3 separate regions of the Homo sapiens genome follow, and all the other regions are linked to region 3. Evidence: promoter capture Hi-C in human tissues and cell types (Jung and others, 2019). All regions are on one chromosome and are shown on one strand. Each heading gives the region's core, a stretch centred on a gene start or on the middle of the fragment in contact. The rest is flanking DNA. Distances are from core to core; before and after follow the strand shown. Region 1 overlaps CCDC146 (coiled-coil domain containing 146). Region 2 overlaps CCDC146 (coiled-coil domain containing 146). Region 3 holds the start of UPK3B (uroplakin 3B).

The links. Contacts are between HindIII fragments. The study calls those that stand out against the background at their distance.
Region 1: a contact is called between a fragment that was not itself captured here and the fragment with the promoter of UPK3B in region 3, in 1 of the 25 tissues and cell types used here (dorsolateral prefrontal cortex).
Region 2: a contact is called between a fragment that was not itself captured here and the fragment with the promoter of UPK3B in region 3, in 1 of the 25 tissues and cell types used here (spleen).

Annotation. Positions count from the first base shown.
Region 1 is chr7:77,126,136-77,129,510 of GRCh38, reverse strand. The region is part of intron 1 of CCDC146 (coiled-coil domain containing 146); the gene reads right to left. It overlaps LOC124901678 (a long non-coding RNA gene), which reads left to right. Exons shown (of 3, transcript XR_007060391.1): 2 at 785-1,005; 3 at 2,739-3,005. Among named protein-coding and RNA genes, the nearest start is that of CCDC146, 5.2 kb to the right of the region's middle. RefSeq lists an enhancer at 701-820. The HindIII fragment of the contact is 7,185 bases long and covers 1-3,375 here.
Region 2 is chr7:77,231,250-77,234,491 of GRCh38, reverse strand. All of the region lies in intron 2 of CCDC146 (coiled-coil domain containing 146), which reads right to left. The region is part of intron 1 of CCDC146-AS1 (CCDC146 antisense RNA 1); the gene reads left to right. Among named protein-coding and RNA genes, the nearest start is that of CCDC146-AS1, 16 kb to the left of the region's middle. The HindIII fragment of the contact is 8,636 bases long and covers 1-3,242 here.
Region 3 is chr7:76,508,767-76,511,983 of GRCh38, reverse strand. UPK3B (uroplakin 3B) reads right to left here and starts at 1,432. Exons shown (of 6, transcript NM_001347684.2): 1 at 1,247-1,432; 2 at 932-1,081; 3 at 102-327. The coding sequence starts at 1,331. LOC124901675 (a long non-coding RNA gene) reads left to right here and starts at 1,251. Exons shown (of 2, transcript XR_007060388.1): 1 at 1,251-1,460; 2 at 1,876-3,217. RefSeq lists enhancers at 1-68, 822-1,394, 1,395-1,967 and a silencer at 2,845-3,050. The HindIII fragment of the contact is 20,174 bases long and covers 1-3,217 here.

The sequences.
Region 1 (3,375 bases), core at 873-3,372, 620 kb before region 3:
AGGCAGAAGATTCATTCTAACCTTAGATCTTAGCAATCTCAGCATATAGTTTTTTTCTTTCCTTATTAAATTGAGAATGTTTCACTTTTTCACTCACAGGAAATACTTTATGGCTTCTCTTTGGTATGTCCTAATTGCTGGCATTACTACTCTTGTGCTTTGGAGCCATTATTAAGTAAAATAAGGGTTACTTGAATACGAGCACTGAGATATCACAACAGCAAATCTGATAACCAAAACAGCTAAGCTACTGAGTGACAATTGGGTGGGTAGGGTAGACAGTGTGGATATGCTGCACAAAGGATGGAGTGAGACAGTGCAAGATTTCATCATGTTCTCAGAACTGTGTGCAATTTAAAATTTACAAGTTATTTCCAGAATTTTCCATTTAATATTTTCAGACTGCAGTTCATCATGGGAAACTGAAACCTCAGAAAGCAAAGCCAAAGATAAGAGGGGCCTACTGTACTCCATGTTTGTGCAGGAGTAGGGCTGACCCTGTTACTTACGTAGTTTCAAACATAGAATTAGGATCACCTTCTCTAGTTCTCTTCTACATGGGATTTCGGCTACACTTTACAGTTTTTGTGGGCCCCTTTTGTTATGGCCAAAAGGATCAGGCTGTCTTAAAGATTTTGCCTTATGCTGCCATTCACTTCTAAGTACTTGGGGCTGCCCTCGAGGTAAAATATCAAGAAAAAGAGAGAAAGAGTATCGGGATTCCCCCACACACTCTCTTTCCAGTTCCTCTATTCAGAGAGACAGTGTTCTCTTTTATTCTTAGGAAACCTCACAGCCTGGCAGTGGCAGTGCAAATCTATGTTTGGAGCTGGCTTTGTGGCAGGGCCAGCAGACCAAAACGGAAAGAAAAAAATCGGGATTTCCCTACAATTTCTGTGTGGCAGGAGCCCCTTTTCTTCTACACAGTTCTCAATTCAGCCTGCTTTTAAGTGAAAGCCAGAAGATAAAGGAGGAAAAAAGAAACAAGGAAACTGAAACTTATTGGTATGTCTTATTTCTTAAACTGGGTGTTAGGCATAAAGATGTTCTTTTTACTATTATTCTTTAGACTTTATTCATACTTTATTCTTTTGTATGAATGAATTACTTTGCACAGAAGGAAATGAAGCAAAAATAAAAGGAAATAAAAATCGAAAACCTGGCCCATGACCATGGAAATTGGTCGAGTTCTGACTGAAGCAAATCCAAAATTGTTCTACAGGGAACAAGAAAAATTTTATTGTAATCTAGAATGTAAAGGATTTTCAGAAAAGAGAACTCCCGCTGAAGATGAGCTATAAATAAAAATTTATAAGCCATGACAAGAAATAAACCACCATGAAACAGAGTTTGTTTATGTAGCAAAAGAGAAACAGCAACCTCATAACAGAACAGACTAGAATAATTTTGCATCAGTATGTTTAAAATAATTAAAAAGGCAAGAGAAGGTAAAGAAACCACAGTAAAATAAACGGAGCAGTTTAAAATAAGAGAAAATAGATTTTTTAAAGAACCAAATAAATATTCTAGAAATGATAATATAGTCATTGGGATGAAAAATTCAATGCAGATATTAAACAATGGATTAGCAAAGATTGGGAAGGAATTAATGAATTAGAACATAGATTTGAGGAAATCATCCAGAATGAAATACGAAAAGATGAAGAGGCATAAATCATATAAACACAGTTAAGGGATATGGATGACAGAATGAGAAATTAAAATACATGTCTAAATGAGAGCTCCAAAAGTAAAGAATAGAAAGAGCAAGGAAACGCTGAAGGTTTATAAATTGGAGACTTTAGACAAAGAAAGCGTATTGACTTCTGAGCAGGACAAATAAAACTAAACCATATTAACAATATTCTAACAATCTTCCATAAAATAAAAGAGGCAACATTTGCCCTTCTAATTTTACCCTAATATCAAAACCAGAAAAAGACATGAAAGAATACTTTGGACCAATATCCTTCATGAAAATAAAATGTAAAAATCCTCACAAATTTAGCAAGTTGAATCTAGCAATTTATAGAAAAGATAATGATGGCAGTGGCTGGTGCCATCACGCTGGCTGCAGTAGGGAGGAAAGGCTGAGACTGCAGACCCAGGCCTCCCACTCCATGGGGCAGTCAGGAGCCCCACCCTCCTGGACGGTGCTACAGCCGCCCAAACTGCAGCTGTAGATCTGAGCCTCCCTGCGCTCTTGAAGTGGGGCTGGGAACAGGCAGGATCTGCCCTCTTGGGTGCAGCTGCAGCCGCCTGACCAGCAGCTGCTGACCTGGGCCTCCCACAACATGGAGCAGGCAGGAGCTGGGGAATCCCGCCCCTGCTGAGTTGGCCTGCGGGAGCTCCCTGGGTGCAGCTGCCACTGCCCTCTCACCCACGGGACCCAGGCATCTCTGCAGCCTGTACCCTCTGGTGCCCCGGAAGGCCCCCCATCCCTGCAGGCTTGGGGTGTCTGCTCCCGCTGCCTGACCTCTCTCCTCTCCTGGAGCTGGCTCAGATCTTGGAGTGGGGTTGGGGTTGAGCCCTGGGGCCATGAATGGCAGCGGGAGGCAGACAGATTCTTGGGTGGAAGGGGGCAGGTCCCCAGTAAGGCTCTACCTTCAGTCCAGGGAGGGCCTGAAGGCTGGGGGCCAACTGCTGGTCCTGCATACCAGTTTGGGGACTCATGGGGCCTCTTCCAGCAGCCCATGGCTGCCCATGGACCAATCAGCATGCACTTCCTCCCCTCTGAGGTCCATAAAAGCCCTGGGCTCAGCCAGAGCAGGGCAGACGATGGCCAAAGGACGAAGAGGATAGACAGACTACACAAGGACCAGCTGCAGAAAGGAGCTACCGTCTCTGCCGAGAGCTTCAGAGACAACCTGCCAGCAGACAGGAGGCACCCTCTCCAGGGCCTCCTCTCCACTGAGAGCTGCAGACATTGGGACAACCAGTAGTAGAGAGGAGCTACCCTCTCCAGGGCCACCTCTCTAATGAGAACTGAATGCTGGACAGATGATCTTCCTACAGAGAGGAGCTACCCACTGTGGGTCTCCTCTGAGCTCTTGTAACACTTAATAAAGCTCATCTTCGTCTCGTTCACCCTTCACTTGTCTGCGTACCTCATTCTTCCTGGATGCAGGACAAGAATTCGGGCAAAGGTGCTGTGGCCACAGAGGTTTCTGGCCAGGAAATTGACAACCCAAAACTCCCTGACAATAACATGATGAAATGTAGCTTATTGAGGGAATGAAACACTTGAAAATCAATCACTGTAATACACATATCAATAAATCAGAAGAAAAACAATATGATCATCTTCATAGATACAGAAAAAGCATTTGACAAAATGCAACATTCACTTATGATAAAAAGTCTAAGCAAATTAGA
Region 2 (3,242 bases), core at 737-3,236, 720 kb before region 3:
AAGTGTTAGGATTACAGGCGTGAGCCACTGCGCCCGGTCTATTTGTAACTTTTTAACTGTTGAGTTGCTGTTGGTAAGTCGACTTAATGTTACATTTTACAGATATTTATTTTGGTTCTGCAGTATTTTTTAGCCAATATATAATTTATTTCATGTTTCAAACATTTTCATTGGTTTCCCAAAGTATACAGACCATAGTTACTATGGCTTTAAAATCTAATAAGTTAAAAAAAAAAAAAGCCTTTACAAATGGACACACTTAAAGGAGAAAAGTTGCTGGGAAAAGATTATGAAAAGGTAAATATGTGAGTGTGTGTTTGTATGTATATGGGTACAATGAAGACCAACTAGGGGCTAGCCCAGTAACTAGCTAACCAGCCATTTTCTGAAGGTAAACTACTGGGTAAGGTAATTGTGGACTCAAATATTCAAAAAAACAGATAGTATTTAGTTTTGTTCTTAAGCTAAAAAGACCATTACTTCCTACTTAATGCTCCCTGCATAAAAAAAACAGAAATGAATATAACATAGGCTCTGCCTTAAGGTAGGCCAAAGTTTGAAGAGATAGATACAAAAAAAAAAAATGATAGAATACTGAAACTACATTCTGCAGTTTTATTTTAAGTAAATGATTGTATTTGGCATTTTGCAATGTTTTAATATTGCAAGTTAAAGCAGGAGTTCCCAGCCCCTGGGCTTTAGGAACTGGGCTGCACAGCAGGAGATGAGCAGCGGGCAAGTGAGCATTACCACCTGAGCTCTGCCTCCTGACAGATCAGCAGTGGCATTAGATTCTCATAGGAGCATAAACCCCATTGTGAAATGCGCATGTGAGGGATCTAGGTTGTGCACTCCTTAGGAGAATGTAATGCCTGATGATCTACGGTGGAACAGTTTCATCCCAAAAGCATTCCTTCTGCCCCACGGAAAAATTGTCTTCCACGAAACTGGTCCCTGGTGTCAAAAAGGTTGGGGGGCTGCTGATTTAAAGCAAATAAGTAAAATTATAAATTACAGACCAATCCAGGGGGTGGGTGGGACTTCCAAAATGGTGGGATGAAGAGTTTGATGAATTCTCTCCTTCAAAGAAACATTGATTTGGCCGGGCACTGTGGCTCACGTCTGTAATCCCAGCACTTTAGGAGGCTGAGGCGGGCAGATCACCTGAGGTCGGGAGTTTGAGACCAGCCTGGCCAACATGATGAAACCCCATCTCTACTAAAAATACAAAAAAAATTAGCTGGGCATGGTGGCGCATGCCTGTAGTCCCAGCTACTTGGGAGGCTGAGGCAGGAGAATCGCTTGAACCCCAGAGGCAGAGGTTGCAGTGAGCTGAGATCACGCCACTGCACTCCAGCCTGGGTGACAGAGTGAGATTCCGTCTAAAAAAAAAAAAACAAACAAAAGAAACAAAAGAAGCATTGATTTAACTGGTCAAAATAATCTGAGACAACCATTTAAAGTCTCTGGAAATTGACCTAAGGTTATATAATAAATTGAGAAACACTTATTCAATAAAATCTACTGAAGCTCAGCAAGAAACTGTGGCATTTGAACCATGGGCTGCATCCATCCCTCTAGCTTCAGGTTTCAGAACTATTCTGGGCAGGCTTGCAGCCAGTGAGGTGCCCATGTCCCCCACTTTCCTATTGCTGAGGATCAAGATCTATCCCAGGTGAAGATCTAAGAAACGGTAGCACTCAGCACTCATCCTCCCCTTCTTCCCCATGGGCAGCTGTAGCTGTTCGGTAGTGCCAGTACTCACTCCCTAATGTCCTGCTCTACAGGGAGACCCTGGGCAGGGCAAACAAAACAGATCAGAGTTCCCCATATCCCCAGCTCCTGCTCAGTAACACAGAGGCTCTAACCAGGTTGGGGGCTGAGCAAGCTGTGAGGACTTGCAGCTCTGCAGCCCTGCCTTTGACTTTATTTGGAACAGAGTGTAGGATATTCATGTCCCAGAGCAATGTAAAAAATAACAGACATAGAAAAACAGATATCATAAGGGCTAACAGAGTAGGCTAATAGTTTTGTGATGCTAATAGATGCAGACCAGCAGAAGTTTAACAGAGAAATTGGGACGAGGGACAGTAAAAAAATTCACACTTGATACTGGTGGTCCAGGAGACTGTGGAAAAGCCCACGGCTGTGACCACCCAAGATCAACCAGACAGGGTACTTCCAAGTCAGTCCCTGAGTTAAAAGTGGCAGATATATAAACTCCTCGAACTCCAAAAGTTGTTCCCAAGCCACACACAGACCCAGTGGAAAAGGATGAAAACCTTACTGGCTCAGTGAGCTTAAGCGTGACCTCTGACCAATCAGTGACTGACCGAGGGCAACACCCAGGAATTCAAGTTTAAAAACAAAAAAACAAGGAACAACTATCTAAGCAGAGACATTAGAGGCTGCCTACTGCGGGGGAAAAATATACTTCACAGTATTAGTCCAGCCAAGTCACTAAACAAATAAATAGATGAACAACAATAACAAGAACAAAACAGCATCAATAAGCCTGGGAAGGATCAGAATCCAGAGTTGTTACAATATATGACCTAAAATGTCCAATTTACAATGAAAAATTATGAGACTTGCAAGGAAACAAGAAAATATGACCCCCATCCCATATAGTGAGATCCCCAGTTCCTTTCTGCAGAGGAAAAAAAAAAAAAACAACAACAACAGGCAGAAACTTTCTTAGGGAGGATGCAGACGTTAGATTTAACAAAGACTTCAAAGAAAATATTATAAATATGTTTGAAGAATGAAAGAAACCATGTTTTAAAAATTAAAGGAGAGTATGATGACAATGCATCAAATAGAGATTGTCAGTAAGAAGAAATTTTTAAGGAGCTACACTGAAATTCCTAAGTAGAAAATCATAATTGAAAAATTCACTGGAGGAGTTCAACAGTAGATTTGAGCAAGCAGAAGAATCAATCGGTAAACTTGTAGATCAGTAGAGAAGGCAGTAGTGCCCACTTATTCATGGGGGATGTGCTCCAAGACCCCAGGAGGATCCCTGAATGGATAGTACCAAACCCATTTATGCTAGGCACAAATTTATTTTCCCTTCTTCACAATTCACAGATAAGATTTGTTCTTACTGTAGATCTTAGCAATCTCAGCAAACTTTTTTTTCTTTCCTTATTAAATTGAGAACTTTCACTTTTTCACTTAAAGAAAGCACTTTATGGCTTCTCTTTGGCGTATCCAAATTGCCACTATCACTGATCTTGTGC
Region 3 (3,217 bases), core at 183-2,682:
ACCCCTCCCTGGAAAGATGCTAGAGAGAGCATCCCTGGTCCCAGCAATGCGTCCGCCCCAAGCACAGCCCCAGTCCCAGGGCTCCGGTGGGGACCACCCACCGATAGGGTCCAGGGCCAGGGAGGGGCGCGTTGCAGAAGGGCTGCTGGTGGCAGCCGTGGTCATGGCCCACCCGCAGCACGGGGGCGCCTCCGCTGCCCGCCATGGGGTCGCCACAGGGCAGCTGGTCCGGAGACAGGGGCAGCGTCATGTAGTGGCCATCGGTCAGCAGCTGTGGGGAGGCCGGAATGTCAGCCAGTGTCTCCGGGTTCTGGAAGCCCCTGGAGGCTGCAGGAGGAGAGAACAGATGGAGGTGGGAGGGGAGAAAGCAGCTTTGTCCTTATGAGTGGGGGTTCTGTGTTCGCCCAGTCTCCAGCCCTGACCCCCCATGCCACCTCCTCCCTCAGGGCCCCCAGAGATAGTCCAGACCCAGTCGACTTTGTTACCCCTGAAGGGGAGCTTCCCTCTGGCCTTTTGTCCCCACCCAGAGCCAGGAGTGGGGAGCAGCGGGCAGTCCCAACCTGCCCAGCCCCAGCCCCAGCCCCATTGCAGTGCACCGGCCCTGCCCCACAGGAGGCCACATCCTCCCAGGTCGCAGCCTCGGTTCCCTGTCCAAAGGAAGAACTACTTGGATTCAGAGAAAGGGTTGCAGAGCCCTTGACAGCTGACAAACCCACCACTAGCACTACTCCCGGGATTTGGTGTTCACTACGTGTGTATTTTTCAATACACATATTACCCCTTTAGATAAAGCCCAATTCATCCACACCTACTCTCCCAAAGGCCCCCACAGGGGCTCAATCATTGAAGGCGCTTGCTGGTGAGGGGCTCCTAGGGCCCACCACTCTCCTCAGCCGTCACCCTCACCCAGGCCCCACAGCAGTCCCCGTACCATTGCTGAAGGCCACCACGAGCCAGACGGTATCGCTGGCGCTGGCAAGCCCATCGAAGACACAGCGCGGCTGCTCCAGGGAGAAGGTGGTGGCTGTGACCTTCCCTTCCAGGTCCCAAGCTGTTATCTGTGGTGTGTAGGGCACCAGCTCTGTGGCCACGGGGGACAAAAGGTGAGCCACGGAGACGGGCGTGGGGGTCCCTGGGGCTGCCTCTCCCAATCGGAGGGGGGCGGGCGCCCAGGGTCCAATCACTCCAGCAGGGCCCCCAGCCCCTTGGGTCTGGCTGGACGCGTCCATCCAGGACCCCCACTCACCCAGGCTCAGGCTGGGCCGGAGACAGTTCAACGCCAGGAGGAGCATCTGCAGCCCTAGGTGAGGCTGCCCCCAGGGTAGCCCCATGACAGCTGCCAGCACCCGGGAGGCTCAGGGGCTGGTCTGGCTGCTTCGGGCTGCACCTCACCCCCAACAGCTTGGCCCTGGAGAAGCTGGTTAATCAGGCTGCCCCAGGGGCTGGAAAGACCTGCAAATGTAAGTGCACCCCACCCCCTTCCTCCCAGGCCAGCCCACAGCAGGGAGGAGCTGGGGGGACTCTGGTGGGAGGCAGGCCAGTATCCAGCCCCACTGCCAGGGCCAAGGGAGAGGGGCCACTGGAACCCCAGATGCCAGCCAGGCCATCCCGGAGCCTGGATTGGGGCCCCTCCCAGTCTCTCCGCCCTGGGGAGGAGGGTCTGGCTTTTGGAAACAGGCTCAGGACCACATGCCTGAGATTCCTGTGCCCCAGGTGCCAGGAGCCTCCCTCTGCCTTCTGTCCCCACCCAGAGTCAGGAGTGGGGAGTAGCAGGCAGCCCCAACCTGCCCAGCCCCATCCCCATCACAGCACGCTGGCCCTGCCCCCCACGAGGCCACATCCTCCCAGTTCGCAGCCTGGGTTCCCTGTCCACAGGAAGAAGAACTTGGATTCAGAGAAAGGGCTGCAGAGCCCTTGACAGCTGACAAGCCCGCCACTTAAACACTACTCCCGGGATTTGGCGCTCACTATGTGTGTATTTTTCAAGACATAACTCACATACCTTCACAACCTTCACAGCTCAGTGGCTTAAATATATATATGTCACCCAGGGAGGTCAGTTCACAGCTAACTGGAGCCTCAAACTCCCAGGTTCAGTTAATCCTCCCACCTCAGCCTTCCCAGTAGCTGGAACCACAGGCACACAACACCATGCTCCGGCTAATTTTTAAAATTTATTTAATTAATTTTTTTTTAAGATGGAGTCTCCTTTGTTGTCCAGGCTGGAGTGCAGTGGCGTGATCTGGGCTCACTGCAACCTCCGCCTCCTGGGTTCAAGCGATTCTCCTGCCTCAGCCTCCCAAGTAGCTGGGATTACAGGCATGTGCCCCACGGCCAGCTAATTTTTGTATTTTTAGTAGGGACGGGGTTTCACCATGTTGGCTTGGCTGGTCTCAAATTCCTGATCTCAAGTGATCCACCCGCCTTGGCCTCCCAAAGTGCTGGGATTACAGGCATGTGCCACCGTGCCTGGCACCCCCGCCAATTTTTTTTTTGTTTTTTTTGAAACGGAGTTTTCACTCTTGTTGCCCAGGCTGGAGTACAATGGCTCGATCTTGGCTCACCGCAACCTCCACCTCCTGGGTTCAAGTGATTCTCCTGCCTCAGCCTCCTGAGTAGCTGGGATTACAGGCATGTGCCACCACACCTGTCTAATTTTGTATTTTTAGTAGAGATAGGGTTTCTCCACGTTGGTGAGGCTGGTCTCGAACTCCTGACCTCAGGTGATCCACCCACCTCAGCCTCCCAAAGCGCTGGGATTGCAGGTGTGAGCCACTGCGCCCGGCTGGCCAATTTTTAAAAATGTATTTTTTATAGAAACAGGATCTTGCTATGTTGCCCAGGCTGATCTCTAACTCCTGGGAGGATCAAGCAAATCTCCTGCCTTGGCCTCCTAAAGTATTGGGATTACAGGCGTGAGCCACCGTGCCTGGCTATTTTTTTTTTTTTTTGAGACATGGAGTCTCACCCTGTCGCCCAGGCTGGAGTGCAATGGCGTGATCTCTGCTCACTGCAACCTCCACCTCCTGGGTTCAAGCAATTCTTCTGCCTCAGCCTCCCTAGTAGCTGGGACTACAGGCACCTACCACCATGCCCAGCTAATTTTTGTATTTTTAGTAGAGATGAGGTTTCACCAACTTGGCCAGGCTGGTCTCGAACGCCTGACCTCGCGATCTACCTGCCTTGGCCTCCCAAAGTGCTGGGATTACAGGCATGA